Regions from separate parts of the Homo sapiens genome. Here region 1 is linked to region 2. The links are contacts of gene promoters, found by promoter capture Hi-C in blood cells and fetal thymus (Javierre and others, 2016). All regions are on one chromosome and are shown on one strand. Each heading gives the region's core, a stretch centred on a gene start or on the middle of the fragment in contact. The rest is flanking DNA. Distances are from core to core; before and after follow the strand shown. Region 1 has its middle 6.0 kb from the start of OLFM2. Region 2 holds the start of EIF3G (eukaryotic translation initiation factor 3 subunit G).

Evidence for each region. Contacts are between HindIII fragments. The CHiCAGO score rates a contact against its expected background, and 5 or more counts as called.
Region 1: a fragment that was not itself captured here is called in contact with the fragment with the promoter of EIF3G in region 2 in 3 of 17 cell types (naive B cells, endothelial precursors and total B cells); the score reaches 5.3 in naive B cells.

Annotation. Positions count from the first base shown.
Region 1 is chr19:9,938,726-9,946,221 of GRCh38, reverse strand. No RefSeq gene overlaps it. Among named protein-coding and RNA genes, the nearest start is that of OLFM2, 6.0 kb to the right of the region's middle. The HindIII fragment of the contact is 2,986 bases long and covers 4,455-7,440 here.
Region 2 is chr19:10,118,649-10,125,691 of GRCh38, reverse strand. It overlaps EIF3G (eukaryotic translation initiation factor 3 subunit G), which reads left to right and starts at 5,793. Exons shown (of 11, transcript NM_003755.5): 1 at 5,793-5,852; 2 at 5,992-6,038; 3 at 6,521-6,604; 4 at 6,736-6,824; 5 at 6,965-7,024. The coding sequence starts at 5,833. RefSeq lists enhancers at 5,535-6,290, 6,291-7,043. The HindIII fragment of the contact is 4,736 bases long and covers 3,388-7,043 here.

The sequences.
Region 1 (7,496 bases), core at 4,698-7,197, 180 kb after region 2:
ACTTTGGGAGGCCGAGGCAGGCGTATCACCTGAGGTCAGGAGTTGAAGACCAGCCTGACCAACATGGTGAAACCCTGTCTCTACTAAAAATACAAAAATTAGCCAGGCATGTGGCAGGAGCCTGTAATCCCAGCTACTCGGGTAGCTGAGGCAGGAGAATCGCTTGAACCTGGGAGGTGGAGGTTCCAGTGAGCTGAGATCGCGCCATTGCACTGCAGCCTGGGCAACAAGAGCGAAACTCTGTCTCAGAAAAAAAAAAAAAAGAAAGAAAGAAAGAAGAAAAAATAAAAAGAAATCTTCTCCAGGACTATCGCAGGGGTTGAAATGAGCCCCCTGCTGGGCCTGGCTTGGGGCAGACCACTCTGCCTTAGAACGGCTGTGGTTCTGAGCCAAGTTCCGGCCGCATGGCCTTAGATCAGGGCCCTGCTCCTTCCTGCTTTGGTAAGGCTGGGAAGCGTTCCTGGGTCTCCTTGTCCCGCCAGCTCATGCCTCAATTCCCAGGCCCCTAATAGGAACCACATGCGCTGGATGCCTGCCCTCCTCCCCCTTCCCTCCTCCTCCCCCAGAGAGGCCTCCTGAGTCATCCTCTCCACCTCACTCCCTCCTTGCAGCCTCATTCCCACGCTGCCCTGGCCTGGCGTCCTCGTGTCAGAGGGCTGTGTCGTGGGTCCCCGCGGGTCTGTTTGTGTGTGAACTCTGCCTCTACTGTGCCTTTGTGGGCGTGACTCCGTGTCTGAGTTATGGATCAGACACTGTGAGCGTGCTCTGTACAAATTCCATGCTTCTGTTTGCGTGTCTGTGCAAGAGTGTGTTGGCATGTGAACTGTCTGCCTGTTTTATGTGATTGTATTGTGAGTGTTTGAGTAAACGGATGTATAAATATGTCTATGCTGGAGACCTGTGTGTGAGCTGTGTGTCTGAATTGTGGGTTTTGTGGAGTTGTGTGTGTGTCTATTTTCTTTCTCTCTCTCTCTTTCCTTCCTTCCTTCCTTCCTTCCTTCCCTCCCTCCCTCCCTTCCTTCCTTCCTTCTTTCCTTCCTCCCTTCCTTCCTCTTTTTCTGCTGCTTTCTTTCCTTCCTTCCTTCCTTCTTGCTTTCTTCTTTCTTTCTTTCTTTCTTTCTTTCTTTCTTTCTTTCTTTCTTTCTTTCTTTCTCTCTCTCTCTCTCTCTCTTTCTTTCTTTCCCTCTCTCTTTCTCTCTTTCGTCTTATTCTGTCACCCAGGCTGGAGTGCAGTGATCTCAGCTTACTGCAACCTCCATCTCTCGGTTTCAAGCAATTCTCCTGCCTCAGCCTCCCGAGTAGCTGGGATTACAGGCATGCGCCACCATGCCAGGCTAATTTTTGTATTTTTAGTAGAGACGGGGTTTCATCATGTTGGCCCGGCTAGTCTCAAACTTCTGACCTCAAGTAATCCACCCACCGTGGCCTCCCAAAGTGCTGGGATTGCAGTTGTGAACCACAGTGCCTGGCCCCTTTCTTTCTTTCTTTTTTGAGACAAGGTCTCACTCTGTTGCCCAGGCTGGAGTCCAGTGGTGCAATCAGCTCACTGAAGCCTCAATCTCTCAGGCTCAAGCAATTCTCCTGCTTCAGCTTCCAGAGTAGGTGAGACTACAGGCACAAGGCACCATGCTCAGATAATTTTTTATTTTTAGTAGAGATGGGCTCTCATTAATTAAAAGAATTACCTGGGTGAGGTTGGGCATAGTGGCTCATGCCTGTAATCCCAGCACTTTGGGAGGCCAAGGTGGGTGGATCACGAGGTCAGGAGATCGAGACCATCCTGGCTAACATGGTGAAACCCTGTCTCTACTAAAAATACAAAAAAATTAGCTGGGCGTGGTGGCAGGTGCCGGTAGTCCCAGCTACTCGGGAGGCTGAGGCAGGAGAATGGTGTGAACCCAGGAGGCAGAGCTTGCAGTGAACCGAGATCGCGCCACTGCACTCCAGCCTGGGCGACTGAGCAAGACTCCATCTCCCCCCCAAAAAAAAAAAGAATTACCTGGGCGAGACCCCAACTACTTCCTTTTTTTTTTTCTTTTTTTGAAAAAAAGAAAAGAGACAAGGTCTTACTCTGTCACCCAGGCTGGAGTACAGTGGCACCATCACAGGTCACTGCAGCCTAGAACTCCTGGGCTCAAGTGATCCTCCCACCTTGGTCTCCTAAAGTGCTGGGAATACAGGTGCCAGCCACTGCACCCGGTCAATAGGTTGGCTTTGAGTCAGATGGAACTGAGTCTGAATCCTGTGTCTGCCCTTTATAGCTGGGTGACCTCGGGCAAATTACTTAACCTCTCTGAGCCTCAAAGTTTTCATTTATTTATTTATTAGAGACAGGGTCTCGCTCTGTCACCCAGGCTGGAGGGCAGTGGTGCAATTGCAGCTCACTGCAGCCTCGACCTCCTGGGCTCAAACGATCTTCCCTCCTCAGCCTTCCAAGTAGCTAGTACTACAGGCGCAAGCCACCATGCCTAGCTACTTTTTGTATTTGTTGTAGAGATGGGGTTTTGCCATGTTGCCAGGCTGGTCTCAAACTCCTGGGCTCAAGTGATCTGCAGTCCTCTGCCTCCCAAAGTGCTGGGATTATAGGTATGAGCTGCTGCACCTGGCCTGCATTTTTAAATGGGGGATAACAGTGCCTACCCTACAGGGTTGTTGTAAGAACTCAAGGAATTAATGTATGGAGAGGATGTATCCCAGTGGTGGGTGCTTCACTGGAGCTCAGTGAGTCAGGAAGGTTCCTGTTAAAGAGATGTTTCCAGCATGGTCCAGGAGGGAGTACTGAGTAGGTAGGTCATGAATAGCTTGGAGTATTGGGGCTTCGTGAATTATGAGGTTCTCTTCAGACAGATAAAGGGAATGAATCTTCCAAGCACATATCAATCACGGTTTAGTTGCAGGAAATGAGAACCAAAACCAGGGAACTTGGTGCTTACAGAACCAAGGCTGGAGAATAGGGATCTAGGGAAAGCCGATAGAATGACTTGCTACAAAACACCACCTCCCGGCTGGGAGCAATGGCTCACCCCTGTAATCCTATCCCTTTGGGAGGCCAAGGAAGGCACATCACTTGAGGTCAGGAGTTCAAGACCAGCCTGGCCAACATAGTGAAACCCTGTCTCTACTAAAAATACAAAAAACTAGCTGGGCGTGATGGCATGTGCCTGTAATCCCAGTTACTCTGGAGGCTGAAGCAGGAGAATTGCTTGAATCCAGGAGGTGGAGGTTGCAGTGAGCTGAGATTGTACCACTGCACTCCAGCCTGGGCAACAGAGCGAGGCTCCATCTCAAAACAAAAACAAAAACAAAACAAAAACCATCACCTCCCAACTCACCCAAGCAGGAGCTTCTGCCTCTATTATTAGCAGGGAGGTGGAGAATTATCCCCTAGAGTGGGGATTTTTGACTTTAAGACTACATCACCATAATTAATGAACAAAATATGGGATATCCACACAATGGAATATTATTGAACCATAAAAAGGAACAGCATGGCTGGGCGTGGTGACTCACGCCTGTAATCCTAGCACTTTGGGAGGCCAATGCGGGTGGATCCCTTGAGCCCAGGAGTTTGAGACAAGCCTAGGCAAATGGAGAGACTCCATCTCTACAGAAAATACAGAAAATTAGCAAGGTGTGGTGGCATGCAACTGCAGTCCCATTTACTGGGATGGACTGAGGTGGAAGGATTGCTTGAGTCTGGGAGGTGGAGGTTGCAGTGAGCCAAGATCCCATCACTTCACTCCAGCCTGGGTGACACAGCGAGACTCTATCTCAAAAACAACAACAACAACAACAGCAACAGGAACAACAAAACAATGAAAACACCAGGAAAGTTGCAATTCAGAGATACGGAGGCAGTCATCATTGTTACTGCAATGGACTCTCAACAAAAACGGGTTGTTCTCACAATTGGAAACAGGAACATTCCTGCAGGAAAATCCAGTGTCTCCCAATTGTGCTTAGCAGCTGCCTCTACCAGCATAACAGGAAGATTAATTCCACCTTCTTCCACCACCCACTTCTCATGCTTCTAATGGATGAAACCTAATTGGCCTACAGAAGTTTAGCTGCAAGGGAGTCTGGAAGTATTTTCGCTTTGCAGGCTCTATAATAAGGAATGCATACTAGGGGGTTGAAATGATGCCAAGAACCACCCCCTGCCCAAAACCATATATTTTGGTTTTGCTTGTACAGTGTCCTTTCTCTCTTTTAGTGGTCAACATTCTATATCCTTCTCTACCTCCCACTTCCTATCCAATGTAGGTTGAATAAGGCTAACTGCACTCTCTGGCTCCGTGGGGGTGATCTATGAGCCAGACCTAGCCAAGCCAAATAATGAATTCCTCTGAATACATAATTGGTTCAGGATGGGCACACAACTTGGGATGCATAATGAGACATTATTTTGCAAGCTCTCTTTTTGCTGATGCTGCTGAGCTTGGAAGAGAGAAGCTTCTGGAAACCATCTTTGTCATCTCTTGGCTAAAAGTGAATCCTTCCCAAAAGACAGCATGGAATGAGAAATGAGAGATGAGAAATGAGAGATGAGGAATGGAGAGAGACAGAATCCTGATGATATAACAGAAACCCTGGATCCAGCCATGACTGAATTCCACTACCCTCATTTTTGTTTAAGTTATATGAGCCAATAGATTTTTTTTCTTAATCCAGTTCAAGTTGAGTTTCTGCTAAATTCTACCAAAGGACCTCTAAATAATATATTCAGGGATTAGCAAGAGCAAAGGTATGTGTTGGCAGGCATTCACTTCATGATCATTTTCTCTATGAAGTGGGTGGTGCAGGGTGTGAGGAAACAGATGTGGGCTGTGAGAGGGTGACAGGAACCCATGGCTGTCCAAGTTCCTGTCTAATTGGCTGTCCAAGTGCCAATTAGAAAAACCCAATGGCCAGATGGCAAGATCCAACGCCCTGCCTCCCTGCTTCCTGTCATGGAGAATGACCTGTGCCCAGTGCCAGACCCTGAGTCCCCAGTTCATCCATTTTGCCACAATAGATCCTTGAGAAGCGGATCCTGATGTCTCTTCAATGATGGCCCACAATTCTGACCACTGCACCATAGACAGTGCACTCTTCTTAACATTAACCACAGTGCTGACCTTGAAGCTGATATCAGTGCAACTAGGATGCTGAGTGTGACTTTGACCTTAGTATGACTCAATCATAATTTTGACCATAGCTTGGCCAGGTCATTATCCACAGCAAGCTCAGGACAAGGACCATAGCACTAGGACAGAGCACAGCATAACCAGGAAACTGACTGTAGTACTAATCACCACACTGACCACAACACAACCAAGAATGACCAGGAGTGACCACAATTCTGACCACAATGCTGACCCTGGCAGAACCAGGATGTTGACGGCAGCACAGATCCCGGTTCAACAGGACACAAACCACAATGCCATCAGGACACCCAGAGGGCCACTAACCATACCAGTCAACGACCAACGGCATCGAATGCATTGACTAAGGTCCAGTCAGAAAAACAGCCCATCCCAGCAAATTCAATAGAAAGAATTTAATATGGGGACTTTAATTAGCCACACACTGAGGTATTAGGTAGGTAGGTTTGTTTGTTTGTTTGCTTTTGTGGGGTTTTTTGAGACAGGGTCTCACTCTGTTGCCCAGGCTGGAGTGCAGTGGAGTAATCATAGCTCACTGCAGTCTCGACCTTCTCAGGCTCAGATGATCGTCCCACCTCAGCCTCCTGAGTAGCTGAGACTACAGGTGTGCACCACCATGCCTGGCTCATTTTTGTATTTTTGGTAGAGATGCAGCATCTCTACAGAGATGTTGGCCAGGCTGGTCTTGAACTCCTTGGCTCAAACAATCCACCTGCCTCAGCCTCCCAAAGTGTTGGGATTAGAAGTGTTAGCCATGGCACTCAGCCGATAGGTAGGTTTTGTTTTTGTTTTTTTCTTTTTTGAGACAGAGTTTCACTATTGTTGCCCAGGCTGGAGTGCAATGGCATGATCTCAGCTCACTGCAATCTCTACCTCCTGGGTTCAAGCGATTCTTCTGCCTCAGCCTCCTCAGTAGCTGGCATTACAGACACCTGCTACCATGCCTGGCTAATTTTTTGTATTTTTAGTAGAGACAGCATTTTGCCTTGTTGGGCAGGCTGGTCTCAAACACCTGACCTCAGGTGATCCACCCACTTCAGCCTCCCAAAGTGCTGGGATTACAGGTATGAGCCACCGCACCTGGCCCTATTAGGTTGGTTTTAAGCGCAAACTGGAGCAGGTGAATCAACTCTAGTTGCTAGCTATCATCTTTGCAAGGACTGAAACAACAAAGGGAGGTGGTAGTTACCTGAATCCAGGAGCTGCAGTTACCTGGCCAGTCACCTGCCCCCACCCCCCACCATGGTGGGGAATACCTAATGGGACTGAGACCACAGAGGAGGCACAGCAGCCATGGCTAGAGACACTCAAAGTGGAGGGGGGGAAATTCTCTGGCTTCTCCTTTCTTGGCACCCTCCAATCTGCCTGTAGACCTCCCATTGGCTGAGCCTAACCAGATGCAAAGAAGCCTGGGAAATGTAGTGTGTAGAGAACCTGAGAAAGATAATTTGCAGGAGCCATTGCCCTGATACAGAGGGGAGCAGGGGGAAAGTGGGGAATAGATCTAAGTGCATATCGACCAAATTCCAACCATATAACACAGGCTGTAGCTTAGTTGTAACTGTGATCGTCTTAGTGACCAGAGCCCAAGGAGGACACTGTTCATGGTCCTGAAATGCAGCATTCATGAGTCAAGAGTGCTGACTCTTGACCGTGAGACCCACTCTTGGTCAAGAGCTTGTGGGTCCTACCAACCAATGTCCTCCTTTTATGCAATGCCAACTGCAGGCTTGGCCTGAAGGGCCCACAAAGGACTGTCTCCCATTTGGGAAAAGGAGATAGAAGAATAGGATGGGTGCGGTGGCTCATGCCTGTAATCCCAGCACTTTGGGAGGCTGAGGCAGGTGGATCACCTGAGGTCAAGAGTTCATGACCAGCCTGGCCAATATGGTGAAACCCCATCTCTACTAAAAATATGAAAAATTAGACAGGCCTGGTGGCAGGCACCTGCAATCCCAGCTACTTGGAAGGCCGAGGCGGGAGAATTCCTTGAACCCGGAAGGCAGAGGTTGTAAGCCGAGATCAAGCCACTGCACTCCAGCCTGGGTGTGACAGTGTGAGACTCCATCTCAAAAAAAAAAAAAAAAAAAAGAGATAGAAGAATAAACAGGATGTCTTCGCAGGCTCAGACTCTATTTTGTGTCCACATCCCATGATGAGTGTCCTCAACCCAGTGCATGGTTGGTTATTGCAAGGCGTGCTGGGGAGTGAGTGCTAGCTAGGTGCTCTCTTTGCTTAGAGTCACAGATGTCTCCCAATAACTGCAAAAAACAGGTCTTCTAAGAGGGGGAAAGCTTTTTCCCTAAGGTCACATGGCCAAGAAGTGGCAGCACCAGGGTTGAACCCAGATCT
Region 2 (7,043 bases), core at 4,544-7,043:
GGCTCACACCTATAATCCTAGCACTTTGGGAGGCCAAGACAGGCGAATCACCTGAGTTTGGAGTTCAAGACTAGCCTGGCCAACATGGAGAAACCCCGTCTCTACTAAAAATACAAAATTAGCTGGGCATGGTGGCACATGCCTGTAATTCCAGCTACTAGGGAAGCTGAGGCAGGAGAATCACTTGAACCCGGGAGGTGGAGGTTGCGGTGAGCTAAGATCATGCCACTGCACTCCAGCCTGGGCAACAAGAGCAAAACTCCATCTCAAAAAAAAAAAAGGAGTCTCACTCCATCGCCCAGGCTGGAGTTCAGTGGCGCAGTATTGGTTCATGGCAACCTCTGCCTCCCGGGTTCAAGGGATTGCCATGCCTCAGCCTCCCGAGCAGCTGGGATTACAGATGCCTGCCACCACACCTGGCTAATTTTTGTATTTGTAGTAGACAACAGGGGTTTCGCTATGTTGGCCAGGCTGGTCTCGAACTCCTGACCTCAAGGGATCCGCCCACCTTGGCCTCCCAATGTGCTGGGATTACAGACGTGATCCACTGTGCCCAGCAGAAACAGGACCTTTAGAGAGAAAATTAAACCCAGGTGTGGTGGCTTATGCCTGTAATCCCAGCACGTTGGGAGGCCGTGGCAGGCAAACCACTTGAGATCAGGAGTTTGAGACCAGCCTGGCCAACTTGGTGAAACCCCGTCTCTACTAGAAATACAAAAATACAAAAATTAGCCAGGTGTGGTGGCACATGCCTGTAGACCCAGCTACTCGGGAGGCTGAGGCAGGAGAATCACTGGAACCCAGGAGGTGGAGGTTGCCATTAGCTGAGATTGCACCACTGCACTCCAGCCTGGACTACAGAGTGAGACTTCACCTTTAAAAAAAATAATTAAAAAAAAAAAGTTTAAATGAGGTCATTAGGGTGGGCCCTAATCCAATATGACTGATGTCCTTAGAAGAAGAGATTGGGACATAGACACACACAGAGGAGGCCACGTGAGGACCGAGGGAGAAGGTGCCCCCACCTCAGAAGAAACCAACCCTGCCGACACTGTGATCTTGGACTTCCAGCCTCCAGAACTGAGAAAATAAATGTGTGCTGTTTAAGCCTCCTAGTCTGTGATATTTTGTTGTGAAAATGTGAGAAAAAGTAACTAATGTTAAGCTGGGTTTGCTCAATTCTGCTTTCCAGCGTAATTTCACAAAGCCCCTGACTCTGAGACACGTGAGACACGTCTGCGCAGCTCTACAGAACAAGGCTTTGAAGACAAAACAGGACAGAGCACAGGGCACACCATGTCCCTTGCCCGAGTCACTATATTCCTTAAATGAGTCTGGGCACGGTGGTTCATGCCTGTGATCCCAGCATTTTGGGAGACCAGGGCAAGGGCATCACCTTAGCCTGGGGAGGTTGAGGCTGCAGTGAGCTGTGATCGTGCCACTGCACTCCAGCCTGGGTGACAGAGAAAGACCCTGTCTCAAAAAAAAAAAAAAAAAAAAAAAGGCGTGCCAGGTGCGGTGGCTCATGCCTGTAATCCCAGCACTTTGGGAGGCCCAGGCAGGCGGATCACCTGAGGTCGGGAGTTCGAGACTACCCTGACCAATATGGAGAAACCCCCGTCTCTACTAAAAATACAAAATTAGCCGGGTGTGGTGGTGTGCATGCCTGTAATCCCAGCTACTCAGGAGGCTGAGGCGGGAGAACCGCTTGAACCCAGGAGGCGGAGGTTGCAGTGAGCTGAGATCGCACCACTGCACTCCAGCCTGGGCAATAGAGCAAGACTCCGTCCCCCAAAAAAAAAAGAAAAAAGAAAAAAAGGACCTGGGCCGGGCACGGGTGGGTCACACCTGTAATCCCAGCACTTTGGGAGGCCAAGGTGGGCGGATCACAAGGTCGGGAGATCAAGACCATCCTGGCTAACACGGTGAAACCCCATCTCGACTAAACATACAAAAATTAGCTGGGCGTGGTGGCGGGTGCCTGTAGTCCCAGCTACTCAGGAGGCTGAGGCAGGAGAATGGCGTGAACCCAGGAGGCGGAGCTTGCAGTGAGCCGAGATTGTGCCACTGCCCTCCAGCCTGGGCAACAGAGTGAGACTCCATCTCAAAAAAAAAAAAAAAAAAAAGGACCTGGTTCAAACCTTTTCCTACACATAAAATAACATCTAATGGGGTCAGGGTATTATGCTTCTGTAATCTATAACCAGATGTACTCTTGCACCCAAACCTTGATGTGGCTCACACCTGTGTAATCCCAGCACTTGGCTCATGGCAGCCTCACCTCCTGGGCTCCAGCGATTCTCCTGCCTCAGCCTCCTGAGTAGCTGGGATTACAGACATGCACCAACATGCTCAGGTAATTTTTGTATTTTTAATAGAGATGGGTTTTCACCACGTTTTCCAGGCTGGTCTTGATCTCCTGACCTCAGGTCATCTGCCTGCCTTGGCCTCCCAAAGTGCTGGGATTACAGACGTGAGCCACTGTGCTCAGCCTCTTTCTTTTTTAGAGACAGGGTTTTTGCTCTGTCACCCAGGCCAGAGTGTAATGGCACAATCATAGCTCACTGCAGCCTTGACCTCCTGGGCTCAAGCAATCCTCCTACCTCAGCCTCCCAGGTAGCTGGGACTACAGGCGTGCATTACCACACCCAGCAATTTTTTGTGTGTAGTGATGGGGTCTCAATGATGTTGCCTAGTCTGGTCTTGAACTCCTGGGCTCAAGAAATCTTTCTGCCTTGGCCTCCAAAACTGCTGGGATTATAGGCACGAACCACAGTGCCCAGCCAAGAAATATATTTATATGTTACATCTCACATATATTACATAAATGCATATTATATATTAATACATGTCCAAAAATAATATTTCCTTTCTTGGTGCCTTCTTTCCAAAGCATTCCTCATTAACAGGTTCTGATTCTTTCTTTCCAGGAAATGATTTGCATATATCTGCATATCTATGTGCTGTTGAAGATTTACACAAATTGGTTCCTGTAATATATGCCATTTTATATATCGCTTCCTCTTTTTTTTTTTTTTTTTTTTGAGATGGAGTCTTGCTCTGTCGCCCAGGCTGGAGTGCAATGGCGATTCTCCTGCCTCAGCCTCCCAAGTAGCTGGGATTACAGGCACCCACCACCATGGCCAGATTTTTTTTTTTTTTTTTTTGTATTTTTAGTAGAGACGGCATCTCACCATGTTGGCCAGGGGCTGGTCTTGAACTCCTAACCTCAGGTGATCCACCCACCTCGGCCTCCCGATTACAGGTGCCCAGCCTGTTTCCCTATAACATCTTTACTACCACGGGGTGATATCGAATTTTTGAAGCTTTGCCCAATCTGCTGGGTTGTTTGGATTTTGTGTTGCTCAGAGTACATTTGAGTAAGCTTGTAAAAATGTTTATCAGTCCTTTGGACCAGCTTCATATTTTCACCAATATAGCCAGGCCACCCTCCTGAAAGGCCACAGCGGCGTGCCTCTCTTTCCTGCTCTCCAGCTAATGTTTTCCCTTCCACTTGGCTCTCTACAGGCTTCTAGAATAATTTTTTCCACAAGAAAAGTTGGTGATATTCCAAACACTTGAGTGGCCTCCTCACTCACAACTCAGAGGATAAAAAAGCATAAACTTTTTTTTCCTGTCTTCTTATTTATTTTTCTCAGGGCATTCTCCCTTACAAGTTATTTTTTGTTTTGTTGCGTGTGTGTGTGTGCGTGTGTGTGTTTTTGAGACAGGGTCTCTCTCTGTTACCCAGGCTGAAGTACAGTCGCATGATCATGGCTCAACCTCCTGGGCTGAAGCTGTTCTCCCACCTCAGCCTCCTGAGTATCTGGGACTACAGGCACACAGAACTATGCCCAGCTGATTAAAAAAAAAAAATTTTTTTAAGGGCCGGGCGCAGTGGCTCACACCTGTAATCCCAGCACCTTGGGAGGCCGAGGTGGGCCCCCGTCTCTACTAAACCGTCTACTAAAAACACAAAAATTAGCACGGCGTGGTGGTGGTCATCTGTAATCCCAGCTACTCGGGAGGCTGAGGCAGGAGAATCACTAGAACCCGGAAGGCAGAGGTTGCAGTGAGCCGCGATTGCGCCGCTGCACTCCAGCCTGGGCGACAGAGTGAGACTCCATCTCAAAAAAAAAAAAAAAAGTTGTTTTTTAGAGATGGGGGGTCTCACTATGTGTTGCCCAGGCTGGTCGAATTCCAGGGCTGAAGTGATCCTTCTGCCTCAGTCTCCCAAAGTTCTGGGATTACAGGCGCGGGCCACCACACCCAGCTAATTTTTGTATTTTTAGTAAAGACGGGGTTTCGCCATATTGCCCAGGCTGGTCTCGAACTCCTGACTTCAAGAGATCTGCCCATCTTGGCCTCTCAAAGTGCTGGGATTACAGGCGTGAGCCACTGCGTCCGACATTGTCAAACGTTTTTTGTTCATTATCACCCTTCTTAGGAGAAAACCCGAATTATCCTAAAATTGAATTTACATCAACTAAATTAATTTCAATTTAATTACATTTAATATCTCCCTAAAGGCAGAAACTAAATACTTAGGGATAAATGCTGTCTGATAGAGCTGGCTTTGGAAGACCACAATATCTAAGATTTTTTTCCTCCCTGAGGACCAGTTTTTTCCCCTGGGGAGTCATCATGAATCACTTCGACTGAGGACGGTTGTGCTTAGAGCAAGGAGCTGAGCAATAAACAAGTAAATGCACAAAATTATACCGGAAAGCCAAGAATGCTACAAAGAAAAGAAGAGGGAGTGGCTGAGGGGAGGCCACTTGGCATCTGAATCATTGGGATCGGGAAAGAAGACAAGGAACAGTTTAAGCAAAAGGATTGTTTTCCCCGAACTTTGGTTTCTTTTTTCTTTCTTTTTCTTTTTTTCTTTTTTAGAGACAGGGGTCTCACTATGTTGCCCAGGCTTGTCTCAAACTCCTGGCCTCAAGCCATCCCCACGCCTTGGTCTCCCAAAGTGCGGGATTACAGGCAGGCGCCACTGCACCCAGTCTGAGCCTCAGTTTCTTCAGCTGTAAAATGGAAGTAATATCCTCCTCACCATGCTTCATATACAATAAGCACTCAATAAGTGAGCTTTATGATTATTATTATTTATTTTAATTTTACTTATTTTTCTGAGACGGAGTCTCACTCTGCAGCCCCAGGCTGGAGTGCAGTGGTGCGATCTCGGCTCACTGCAGCCTCCGCCTCCTGGGTTCAAGCGATTCTCCCGCCTCAGCCTCCCGAGTAGCTGGGATTACAGGTGCCCACCACCACGCCTGGCTAATTTTTTTTTTTTTTTTTTTTTTGAGACGGTGTCTCGCTCTGTCGCCAGGCTGGAGTGCAGTGGCGCGATCTCGGCTCACTGCAACCTCCGCCTCCCGGGTTCAAGCGATTCTCCTGCCTCAGCCTCCCGAGTAGCTGGAACTGCAGGCACGCACTACCACGCCCAGTTAATTTTTGTGTTTTTAGTAGTGACGGGGTTTCGCCACGTTGGCCAAGCTGGTCTCGAACTCCTTACCTCAGGTGATCCGCCCGCCTCGACCTCCCAAAGTGCGAGGATTACAGGCTTGAGCCACCTCGCCTGGCCTATTTTAATTTTAAAGGTTAATAGGACCAGCCCTGAAATCAGCCTCTGCCCCCGCTGGCCCTACTCTGGTACCAGCAGCGCCCAGTAGCATACACAGCCGCGTGCGCCTCCACCTCCGTCCGCAGGTGTCGCTGTGGGTGCCGCGGCTGGGCCCCTCTAGGCGGCGACGGCGGCACCGGAAGTCTCGTTTTCGCCCGCTTCCGCTCTCTGGCCGGGCTTGGGCTGCGTGGAGAATACTTTTTGCGATGCCTACTGGAGACTTTGAGTGAGTCGGCGATCGCGGAAAGGGGCACGGGAAGCGGTTGGGGTGCTCTGGGAAGTATTATGGGGCCTGGGTACGCCGAGGCTGCGGGAGCCGGGCCTGGCTGACTTAATCTTCGTTCCCCACACATTTGTTTCCGCAGTTCGAAGCCCAGTTGGGCCGACCAGGTGGAGGAGGAGGGGGAGGACGGTAAGTGTACACGGTCGCCCGGGGTATTCGCGGCCAGGCCCAAGCCGTGTGACTGCCGCCTGCTTCCATCTCCCAGTCTGGCACCGTGTACCCCGTCACGGTCTGCCCCTGCCCCGCGCCATCCTCCTTGGGACCCGCCTGTTGCCAACTCCAGGTGTTCCCCGGCGGGTCCCTCTTCCTCCCATGCCACTGCCTCCCAGCTGTTCCCCTCCAGGGAGGAAGTTGTAATCTCCCGTCTCCTGTTTCTCTACTGGCGCCTGGTTGGCTTCATGGCCTGGCACCCACCTTCCTACGAGGGATCTCCCATCCTTGCCACTCCGAGTCCCCACAGGGCCATCCCAGTGCGTTGCCTGGCCAGCCCTCTGCCCTTGGCCTGCCTTTCTCCGCTTTTGCTGTAGGCGTCATCCCAAAAGCCCTTCCATCGCAGCTGGGGAGCTCCTGCCCCTGGAGCTGACTCCTCCTTCCTACGCTGCCTTTTGCAGACAAATGTGTCACCAGCGAGCTCCTCAAGGGGATCCCTCTGGCCACAGGTGACACCAGCCCAGAGCCAGAGCTACTGCCGGGAGGTGAGTGAGGACTGCCGGGAGGTGAGTGAGGACTGCCACTCGGTGTCCGGGCTGCCTCTCCCTCCAGCCCTGCCGCTCCTGATCCCCATGACCCAGGGCTCAGTCTTTCTCTGTTTTTCCCCTTCTGCCAGCTCCACTGCCGCCTCCCAAGGAGGTCATCAACGGAAACATAAAGACAGTGACAGAGTACAAGATAGATGAGGATGGCAAGAAGTTCAAGGTGAGGGTGGGGGGTGCAGGGAGTGGGGACCCTTGTGCTTGGGGGCCCATAGACCGGAATGGGGTGGGGTGTGTTGAGGAGGTTGATAAAGGAGATCCCTTGGTCCCAGGAGCCTGACCCTTCTCCCCTCCCATCCTCAGATTGTCCGCACCTTCAGGATTGAGACCCGGAAGGCTTCAAAGGCTGTCGCAAGGAGGAAGGTGAGGCTCTTCTTCCCCA